Linked DNA regions of Homo sapiens: regions 1 and 3 are each linked to region 2. Evidence: promoter capture Hi-C in 16 types of primary human blood cells and fetal thymus (Javierre and others, 2016). All regions are on one chromosome and are shown on one strand. Each heading gives the region's core, a stretch centred on a gene start or on the middle of the fragment in contact. The rest is flanking DNA. Distances are from core to core; before and after follow the strand shown. Region 1 holds the start of BLOC1S1 (biogenesis of lysosomal organelles complex 1 subunit 1). Region 2 holds the start of ATP23 (ATP23 metallopeptidase and ATP synthase assembly factor homolog). Region 3 holds the start of SARNP (SAP domain containing ribonucleoprotein).

Region 1 (2,588 bases), core at 1-2,500, 2.2 Mb before region 2:
ACATATATATAGTGATGTTTGGTCTTCACTCCTTAGATTCTATTTAATTAGTCTGGAATCAAGGCTTTTTTTTTTTTTTTTTTGAGACAGAGTCCCACTCTGTCGCCCAGGCTGGAGTTCAGTGGCGTGATCTCGGCTCACTGCAACCTCTGCCTCCCAGGTTCAAGCGATTCTCCTGCCTCAGGCTCCTGAGTAGCTGGGATTACAGGCTTGTGCCACTACGCCTGGCTAAATTTTGTATTTTTAGTAGATACAAGGTTTCACCATGTTGGTCAGCCTGGTCTCGAACTCCTGACCTCGTGATCCGCCCGCCTCGGCCTCCCAAAGTGCTGGGATTACGGGCGTGAGCCACCGCACCCGGCTAATCACGGCATTTTTATAAGCCTTGTGATTTCTGTGATTCTAATGTTTAGATTCTAATGCTTAGCCAGGGTTGAGAACCACCGATTTAATCCAATCCCTTCTCCTAGTTTTACTAAAGAGAAAACTATAACCTAGAATGGTGAGCAACTTGCCCAAAGTCACCCAACATGTTAGTGCAAGGTGCACCGAGAGAGATTGTACCAGTAGCAAGAATATGCTCATGATGTTTATAATTGTTCTCGCTGGAGTTAATCCCGGAAGCATTTCTTTTTAGTTCACAGAGGCCTTATATAAATTACTTTTTACTTTGGCACAGCACTTACGCTTCTGCTAACACTGAAATGGGTTCGCATTCCTGACCACAAAAGGACAGAGATGAAATTCTACATTCACACAGCCCGCCAAGTTAGCCAAGCTCCCTAGGAGGCTGTCTGAAGTGCCTAAAATGCTTCTCTACAATGATCACCCAGAGCTGAGAGACTTCAGTGGGGTAGTGAGAAGAAAGAGGGTTGGGAGAGACAGGAAAGCATCCTCTCCTTGAGGGAAGGAACTGGGAATCAACTGAGAACCAGCTAGCACTGCCAGGAGGTGAGGAGAGGGAAGGAGAATAATTTAAATGAGGCCAGGGAGCTTCTGCTCCCTCAATTAAACGGTGATAGACGGCCTGACACCACCAGCCCTCGAAGCCTGAGATCCACAGGAAATGTTAAAAACTGGCTTGGCAATATAAGTATTAGAAAATACTTCTTCCAACACTCACCAAAAACTAAGCTCCCAATAAAGAACACTTCACCTGCCCTCCGCAACCCTCTACCTCTCTTCCCCGCCAAGATCTTCACCCAAGGTCTCAAGAGGGCGGTTCCCAACCTCACGTGACACAGCGGTCACGTGACATGGCCCCGGGGAGCCGAGGTGAGCGTTCCAGCTTCCGGAGCCGGAGGGGGCCCGGCGTACCCAGCCCCCAGCCCGACGTGACCATGCTGTCCCGCCTCCTAAAAGAACACCAGGCCAAGCAGAATGAACGCAAGGAGCTGCAGGGTGAGCCAAATATCCTGTCGGCCGTTTTCTCTTCGGCCGCGGCCTAGCTTCAGCCCGGAGCCTGGATCTCGAGTAACTAACCATATCCAGGGAAAGACGCCAGCTAGCGGGCAACGGGCATGGGGGAGAGGGAATTTCAGAGAGGCTTTTTTTGAAACTCCTTTCCCTTGCCAACTGGCTCCGGTCCCTTGGGCAATACTCCGGTCCCCTCGGCAACGCCCCCAATCCCCGACCTGCCGCACCTTAGCCCCGCCCCTGCCCCGGAGCGCCCTGCCTATTGGCCCTGGGAGCCTCTCGTCCTGGCGGCGGGAAGGAGCGACTCTGGAGGGAGGAGGGTGTGGGGAACCCCCCAGAGATGGGCTTCTTGGAGGCCTGAAACCACCGGAACGGAGGTGGGGCACTTGTTTCCTGAGTCCGGGCTGGAAATCTCGGAGTTACCGATTCTGCGGCCGAGTAGTGGAGAAAGAGTGCCTGGGAGTCAGGAGTCCTGGGCGCTGCCGCTGACTTCCTGGCGTCCCTGAGTGAGTCCATTTCCCTCCCAGGGTACCAGTTTCCTCATCTCTAAAATGAAAGAGGTTGCGCTATGTTTTGCAAGGTCCTTTTCAGCTCCGGCATTCAGAGATTAGTTAAGAAATTTCGGCAACTAGCAGAATAGTAATGGATGGGTAGGGAACCTTTAACACTACCCCTCAAAAAACCAAGTCTCCCCTCCAATTCCTTTTCCCCCTCTCCCCAGAAAAGAGGAGGCGAGAGGCTATCACTGCAGCGACCTGCCTGACAGAAGCTTTGGTGGATCACCTCAATGTGGGGTATGGACCTCTTATCAACATCAGTTTCCTCCTTCCCCACCCCGCCCAAGTTTAGGCACTGGCCAGTCTGGCCCTCAAATAGCTGTTGAAGGGGTGGGATGTTCCACTAATTCCCCTATCCTACCCCGCCCCTCCCAGCTCTTTGTAGAGCAACTTGAGTCAACTCTGAGTCCTAGCACTGGGCAAGGGAGGAACAGCTGCCGTGGTTAGAGAAGCAGCCAGATTTCCCCTTCCCCACGTTAACTTCCCTGGCATTTACAACTTGATGCCATCTGCCCACCTCCCTTCACCCTTCCAAGTCCAGCTGTCACTTCAGCAGGAGGGAGAGCACCCTCCTTCATTACAGCTTACCACCCTCTCCTCTGCCTCCCACCCTCT
Region 2 (2,904 bases), core at 403-2,902:
GGTTGAAAAATTAACTATTGGGTACAATGTTCACTGTTTGGGTGATGGGTACACTAGAAGCCCAGACCTCACCACTACACAATATATCTGTATAATAAACCTACACATAAACCACCTGAATCTATGTATTAAAAAAGAAAGCATGAAAAAAATCCAAATAGTATTTCAAATGTATATAGGCTATGGTCCATTTCTAGGCATATCTAGCCTGCCTTCAGTATTCCAAACTAATCACACTGAATTGTAATGGCTTAGTTTTCCATATGTGTGTTTTAGTTCAATAACTGGATTGAAAGCTAGTTGTGTGGTCCTAGATAAATTATTGAATTTTGCTGAGCCCACTTTATCTGCAAATTAGAGATAATACTTACTTTGCAGGGTTGTAGTGAGGATTGGAAATAATGTATCCAAGGTGAATTTAATTAAAAAGTAGTTACTTTTTTTTTGACTTCTGGCTTTAATAGTCTATGTACATAGGAGTTGTTTGTATTTTTATAATATTCCAGATGAATGACTATCCTAGCATCCCACTCAATTTAGATATTGAGCATCTATGACACATAAAGCACTGTTCATAACCCTAAAGGCCTGCTGAGCCTATATTTTTCAGATATGTTTCTTACATAAACCACATGCTGCTCTTCATCTTTAGCAATTTTCTTAGTCATGTGTTTCCTCAGTCTCTTACACCTTGCCTGGCCCATCATAGTAGGTGCTGAATAAATGTGTGAGCTGAGTGGAATAATTTAGTAGGAAAAGAGAAACACACAAATTGGATAAAACCTGGCAGGCTACGATGAAAATGATTAACAGGTACAAAGTGCTTTGTACATTGGGAGATCAGGAGACATTAATTTTGATTAAGGTATCTGGGAATGCCCTGTGGAGTAGGCAGATTTGACCTGGGCCCCAATCATAGGGGCTGAGGCAAGGAGCTTAAAGATGGAAATGACAGTATGAGTTAAGGCTGAGAGGTAGAAGTAAACAGGGTGCGCTTTGTTATCAGGGAGTTATTGGTGGGGGGTGGGGCAGAAGAGTAGGGTAAACGAATGGGTACAGGTGGGAAGAAAAAATGTAGTTGGTTCCTACATTTTGAGGATTTTGATGTGACTAGTCATTCTTTATAGTTTTAAAACGTTTCTGAAAAACACTGCTTTCAATATGGCCAGAGGCATCTTTGGGCAGAGTGGATCTGAGGGATGGCAGGGGTCGGGAAAGTGGCGGGCCAGAAATGACAACTGGCTTGCCCCGGAAGAAGGCAGGGAGTGGGAGGATGGCCGAGACCTTCGGCGGCACAAGAGCAGTTAGTGGCCAATATTCGCCCCGAGGTGAGGAAGGAGTGTCTGCGAGGAGGCGGGACACCCTTAGAGCTCAGCAGGCAGCAGGAAGCTGCAGAACAACGCTTATAAAGACATGTCACCCACACTGGGAGGGCAGCAGCGAAATCCGCGGCAGCCGGGTTGTTACAGCCTTTGAGGGAAGTCGCAAGACCCAGCTCCGCCCAACAGCATCGGGCCCCGCGCCCCGCCCCATGCCCTCGCCCCGCCCCTCATCCCTCGCCCCGCCCCTCGCCTCTCGCCCCGCCCCTCGCCTCTCGCCCCGCCTCCCGCGCTCCCCGTCAGGTTCAAAGCCCCCTCCCGCCTAACGTCTTCAGCCCAGCCAGGCTGCCCTTCTTCCCTGCGGAGGGAGGGCCTGGGCGGTCGCGTTGGCGGGAGGGAGGTTACCTTTCCCAGTCTCGCTCTGGCCGCCTGAGCCAGGAGGAAGCAGCGGCGAGGTCTGCGGGAGGCATGGCGGGAGCTCCGGACGAGCGCCGGCGGGGCCCCGCGGCAGGGGAGCAGCTGCAGCAGCAACACGTCTCTTGCCAGGTCTTCCCCGAGCGTCTGGCCCAGGGGAATCCCCAGCAAGGGTTCTTCTCCAGCTTCTTCACCAGCAACCAGAAGTGCCAGCTTAGGCTCCTGAAGACGCTGGAGACAAGTAGGAGCCATGACCTGGAGGCTGTGGTTCCACAGAATGGGTCTGAGACCGGGTGGGCGAGGAAGGGCCTGGGCAACACCTGGCCAGGGGCTTCAGGTTCAGCACAGAGTCTAGACAGACTGGGCATCATGGGGGCTGGGTTGGGAGCCTGAGGCTCAGTTTCCCCACTAGAGGTGGCGCTGAGACCCTTTTCGTCGCTGTTTTTGGCTTGTGGAATGAATTTGTCTGCCCTTTTTTGTCACTCACTGTTGTGACAGATCCTCCGATTTCTTACATAAGTTATGCAGCCACACTGTGACTTCAGGGTAAGGGTGAGGCCAAGTTTTAAAGTGCCAGCCAGGTTAATTAAGGCACACAAAGGCTGTAAAAATGTAAAAATGTAATTAAGGCATACCAAGGCTGTAAAAATATAAAAGCAGTTTTGCAAACCTACCGTTCCTTGGAAGTGGTTCATGCATGAATGGGCTTCAGAGCGTAGAAATCCCTGAAATGGTCTGTGAAATCGTGTGTATGTGTGTGTGTGTGCCCCTAAGTGCATTTTTTTTTTTTTTTTGAGACGGAGTCTCGCTCTGTCGCCCAGGCTGGGGTGCAGTGGCGCGATCTTTGCTCACTGCAAGCTCCGCCTACTGGGTTCACGCCGTTCTCCTGCCTCAGCCTCCCGAGTAGCTGGGACTACAGGCGCTCGCCACCACACCCTGCTAATTTTTTGTATTTTTAGTAGAGACGGGTTTTCACCGTGTTAGCCAGGATGGTCTTGATCTCCTGACCTCGTGATCTGCCTGCCTCGGCCTCCCAAAGTGCTGGGATTACAGGCGTGAGTCACTGCGCCCGGCCCAAAGTGTATTTTTTTTTGGTCGGGGGAGAGAGTTAATAGCTTCATCATATTCTCAAAGAGGCCAACGACCCCACAAAGGTTAAGAACTGCTGTGG
Region 3 (2,808 bases), core at 109-2,608, 2.1 Mb before region 2:
TTAACTCATCACAATAAAGATCAAGAGACCGCTGATATAGTCTATGCATTTCAGTATCATCAAGTTAACAATAACTCCAGAATAACACAAAAACCCACTAACAGAGTTTAGAATCCAAGAGTAAGAAAAACATCAGTTTCACAGAAAGACTAATTGGGGTCAACTAATAAGTGACTAAAGAAGGGTCCTCTCCCTACCCTTACTACCCTTAAGCTTTCTTAACAGCAACAAAAACAAAAAAAAACTTTTCGAGCTTTAAAGGATCACTTTTCAGTTTCAGCTATATCAGCCTGGTTTGTCCAAAACATCTAATGGGAAAACTACTTGTGAAACCACAAACAGACAATTACTCAAGATATCTTAATTTACCCTAAAAGAAAATACTTTTTAAAATGTTCTTCTTTTTAATATATTTTTTTAACTTTTTTATATATCTAAGTGTGAAAAAACTACCAAGAGTCTCATAAGACAATTTAAAATAGCTTCTGTGATTCAGTGTCAGCCAATGGTAACACCAGGAGATGCAGGGCCCACCCGAGATATGAAATGGAACAGAGATAATCTTAACCTTGGAATTGTTTTTCCCAAATATTGCAGGTGTGAGTTCTCTCTGGTGGTTGGAGATGGTGTGTGAGGAAGGCTGGCGGGCCGAGAGCCGCGTGACAGAACTCGAAAACTTTTAAATCTGAGGTGTCTGTACTTCTACTATTCTCAAGACCTCCTCAACCCCAGGCTTCTAAGGCGAGACCGATCTTCTGAGAGGCCTCTCCCTGTTTCAAAATTCGGCTTGGGGCGTAATCCCACCTAGAAAAGGGGAGTGGAAGTATTTTCTGAGTGTCTGGTACCTATTTAGACAGAAATACACAAAAATGCCACCATTTGCTAACAGGGAAATCTCAGCTTCGGACGACAGACTGGAAACATCATCCCAGGGAAGAAAAACGGATCCTGGCTCCGACATGGGGCAAAAAGGAGGGACCAACTGACGTAATGCAGCCCTGAAAAGCAACGAAGAGTATAACAGGTAGAAGGCACTTACACAACCCAGTGGGGAAGGGTGACGGACGATACAATGATGAAGGAAGCAGAAATAACAAATAAATATAGCAGTAAAGCCGTGAGGAGAAATGGGAAATTAGGGAAGGCGTAGTGTGGAAGGGTGGCACAAAAGAGCTACGGCGGGAGCCGAGAAACGAAGTGGAAAAGGCTGCACGGAGAAGACGTAGGAGAAGGCGCAAGCTACCCTGTAGAATTCAGTTCCTAGAAAAGTCCAACTCAGCCCTTCCCCGATTCACGGTACCTTTAGCTTATGGAGCTCCACCGTCTCGGTCGCCATCTTGTTACCCCTCACTCCACTAGGCCCCCACCCGCGGCCTCCGCCTCCAGGAGCTCCCGCCTTAGGCGTAGAGATGCAAGGCTGACCAATCGTTGTCACTCTTGCTCCCACGCCATACCATCAGCTCTTCCCATTGGTCAATAGCTGACGTCGCTCTCACTTCTCTAGGCAGCTTGCCCCACCTCTTTCAAAAGGTGGAACTGGGAGAGGGGCGGGCACTGTATCTTGCGAACGACAGAAATGGCAACCAACTGTGCTTCTGCATTACAGACCACCAACCAATGGGTGGTGGCAGCGCTGATTCTGTTCCTCCAATAGGAAAGGGGCAGAAGGAGAGGCGTTACTTCCTGGAGACTTCAGGTGTGGTAGCCGGCGCCGCGCCCATAGCCGGACGGGGATCTGAGCTGGCAGGTAGGAGCTGCAAAGACTGTAAGGGTTGCTGAGGAAAAATGGTGGGAGGCGAAAGGGGCGCCGAGGGAGTGGTGACCTAAATACTGAGAGGGGAGCGCTGAAGGGAGCCCTGAAAAAACCGATGAACATGAGGAGGAAGCTGGGAGGGGCATGGGGCGGGCTTAAGGAACTGGCGGTGGGGCTGGGGCGGGCAAGAGCCGCTTCCTAACCAGACATCATCAGCTTTAGAGCTACCACAATTTTAAAGATCCGAGTTCAGATAATCACTGCTGCCCCTGGAGTCAGAGCCAAGGCTCCACCTTTCGAGGTATTGAGCTCAGGTCCCTTCCTAACCCAGTCCAGAAGCCGTGGGCAAGTTGTTGTCGTGCCCCACGCTTGAGAGAAGTAATGGGGATGCAGACTGTTTACATGCCACGGAGGTGAGAGAGAGGGTGGACAAGCCCCAGAGAACAAAGTGGGGACCAGAGTGAGCTTTACTCTGTCATCCCTTCTTAGTGGTTCTTTGATGATTCCATGACTTTCGCCTGGAATTCTGGGTGTACGTGACCTCTTCATGGTTATTAACTTCTTCAGCAAAGTCAGATACTCCTATTTCCCTTGCTCCCTGAAGTGAGTGCCCCAAGCCTACACATACACCTTCATGTTACAGTTGACGTGTAAAGATCAGAGCAATAATGACTATGTCTCTGAAATGTAGTGAGGACTCTTCTTGTCTTTTAAAGTTTTCCCCAAGTCTTCAGTTTTTATTTTCTGCGTGATGGGTAAGTTCTTCATTCCCAATAGAGTTCAGGGGATTGGGGCTATCTGAGAGACAACTGGGAGATAGCTCAAGAGGGGTTGAGAAAAAACTGAGCTGGACTCCTGCCTGATCCCCCATTACGGCTAGGATGAATGTGGGGGTGGCACACAGCGAAGTAAACCCCAACACCCGAGTGATGAATAGCCGAGGCATCTGGCTGGCCTACATCATCTTGGTAGGATTGCTGCATATGGTTCTACTCAGCATCCCCTTCTTCAGCATTCCTGTTGTCTGGACCCTGACCAACGTCATCCATAACCTG

What was found. The method cuts DNA at HindIII sites, captures the fragments that hold promoters and counts their contacts. A CHiCAGO score of 5 or more calls a contact.
Region 1: the fragment with the promoter of BLOC1S1 here is called in contact with the fragment with the promoter of ATP23 in region 2 in 3 of 17 cell types (non-activated CD4 T cells, monocytes and neutrophils); the score reaches 7.6 in non-activated CD4 T cells.
Region 3: a contact is called between the fragment with the promoter of SARNP here and the fragment with the promoter of ATP23 in region 2, in 1 of 17 cell types (neutrophils). The highest score is 5.9, in neutrophils.

The regions. Positions count from the first base shown.
Region 1 is chr12:55,714,796-55,717,383 of GRCh38, forward strand. It overlaps BLOC1S1 (biogenesis of lysosomal organelles complex 1 subunit 1), which reads left to right and starts at 1,251. Exons shown (of 4, transcript NM_001487.4): 1 at 1,251-1,401; 2 at 2,138-2,210. The coding sequence starts at 1,257. It overlaps BLOC1S1-RDH5 (BLOC1S1-RDH5 readthrough), which reads left to right and starts at 1,239. Exons shown (of 6, transcript NR_037658.1): 1 at 1,239-1,401; 2 at 2,138-2,210. It also overlaps a transcript of ITGA7 not described here. RefSeq lists enhancers at 1,296-1,435, 1,716-1,955. The HindIII fragment of the contact is 4,864 bases long and covers 1-2,183 here.
Region 2 is chr12:57,939,915-57,942,818 of GRCh38, forward strand. It overlaps ATP23 (ATP23 metallopeptidase and ATP synthase assembly factor homolog), which reads left to right and starts at 1,653. Exons shown (of 6, transcript NM_033276.4): 1 at 1,653-1,974. The coding sequence starts at 1,788. RefSeq lists enhancers at 1,522-2,331, 2,788-2,904. The HindIII fragment of the contact is 6,393 bases long and covers 1-2,904 here.
Region 3 is chr12:55,816,366-55,819,173 of GRCh38, forward strand. SARNP (SAP domain containing ribonucleoprotein) reads right to left here and starts at 1,359. Exons shown (of 11, transcript NM_033082.4): 1 at 1,301-1,359. The coding sequence starts at 1,336. It overlaps ORMDL2 (ORMDL sphingolipid biosynthesis regulator 2), which reads left to right and starts at 1,676. Exons shown (of 4, transcript NM_014182.5): 1 at 1,676-1,747; 2 at 2,634-2,808. The coding sequence starts at 2,635. The HindIII fragment of the contact is 4,326 bases long and covers 212-2,808 here.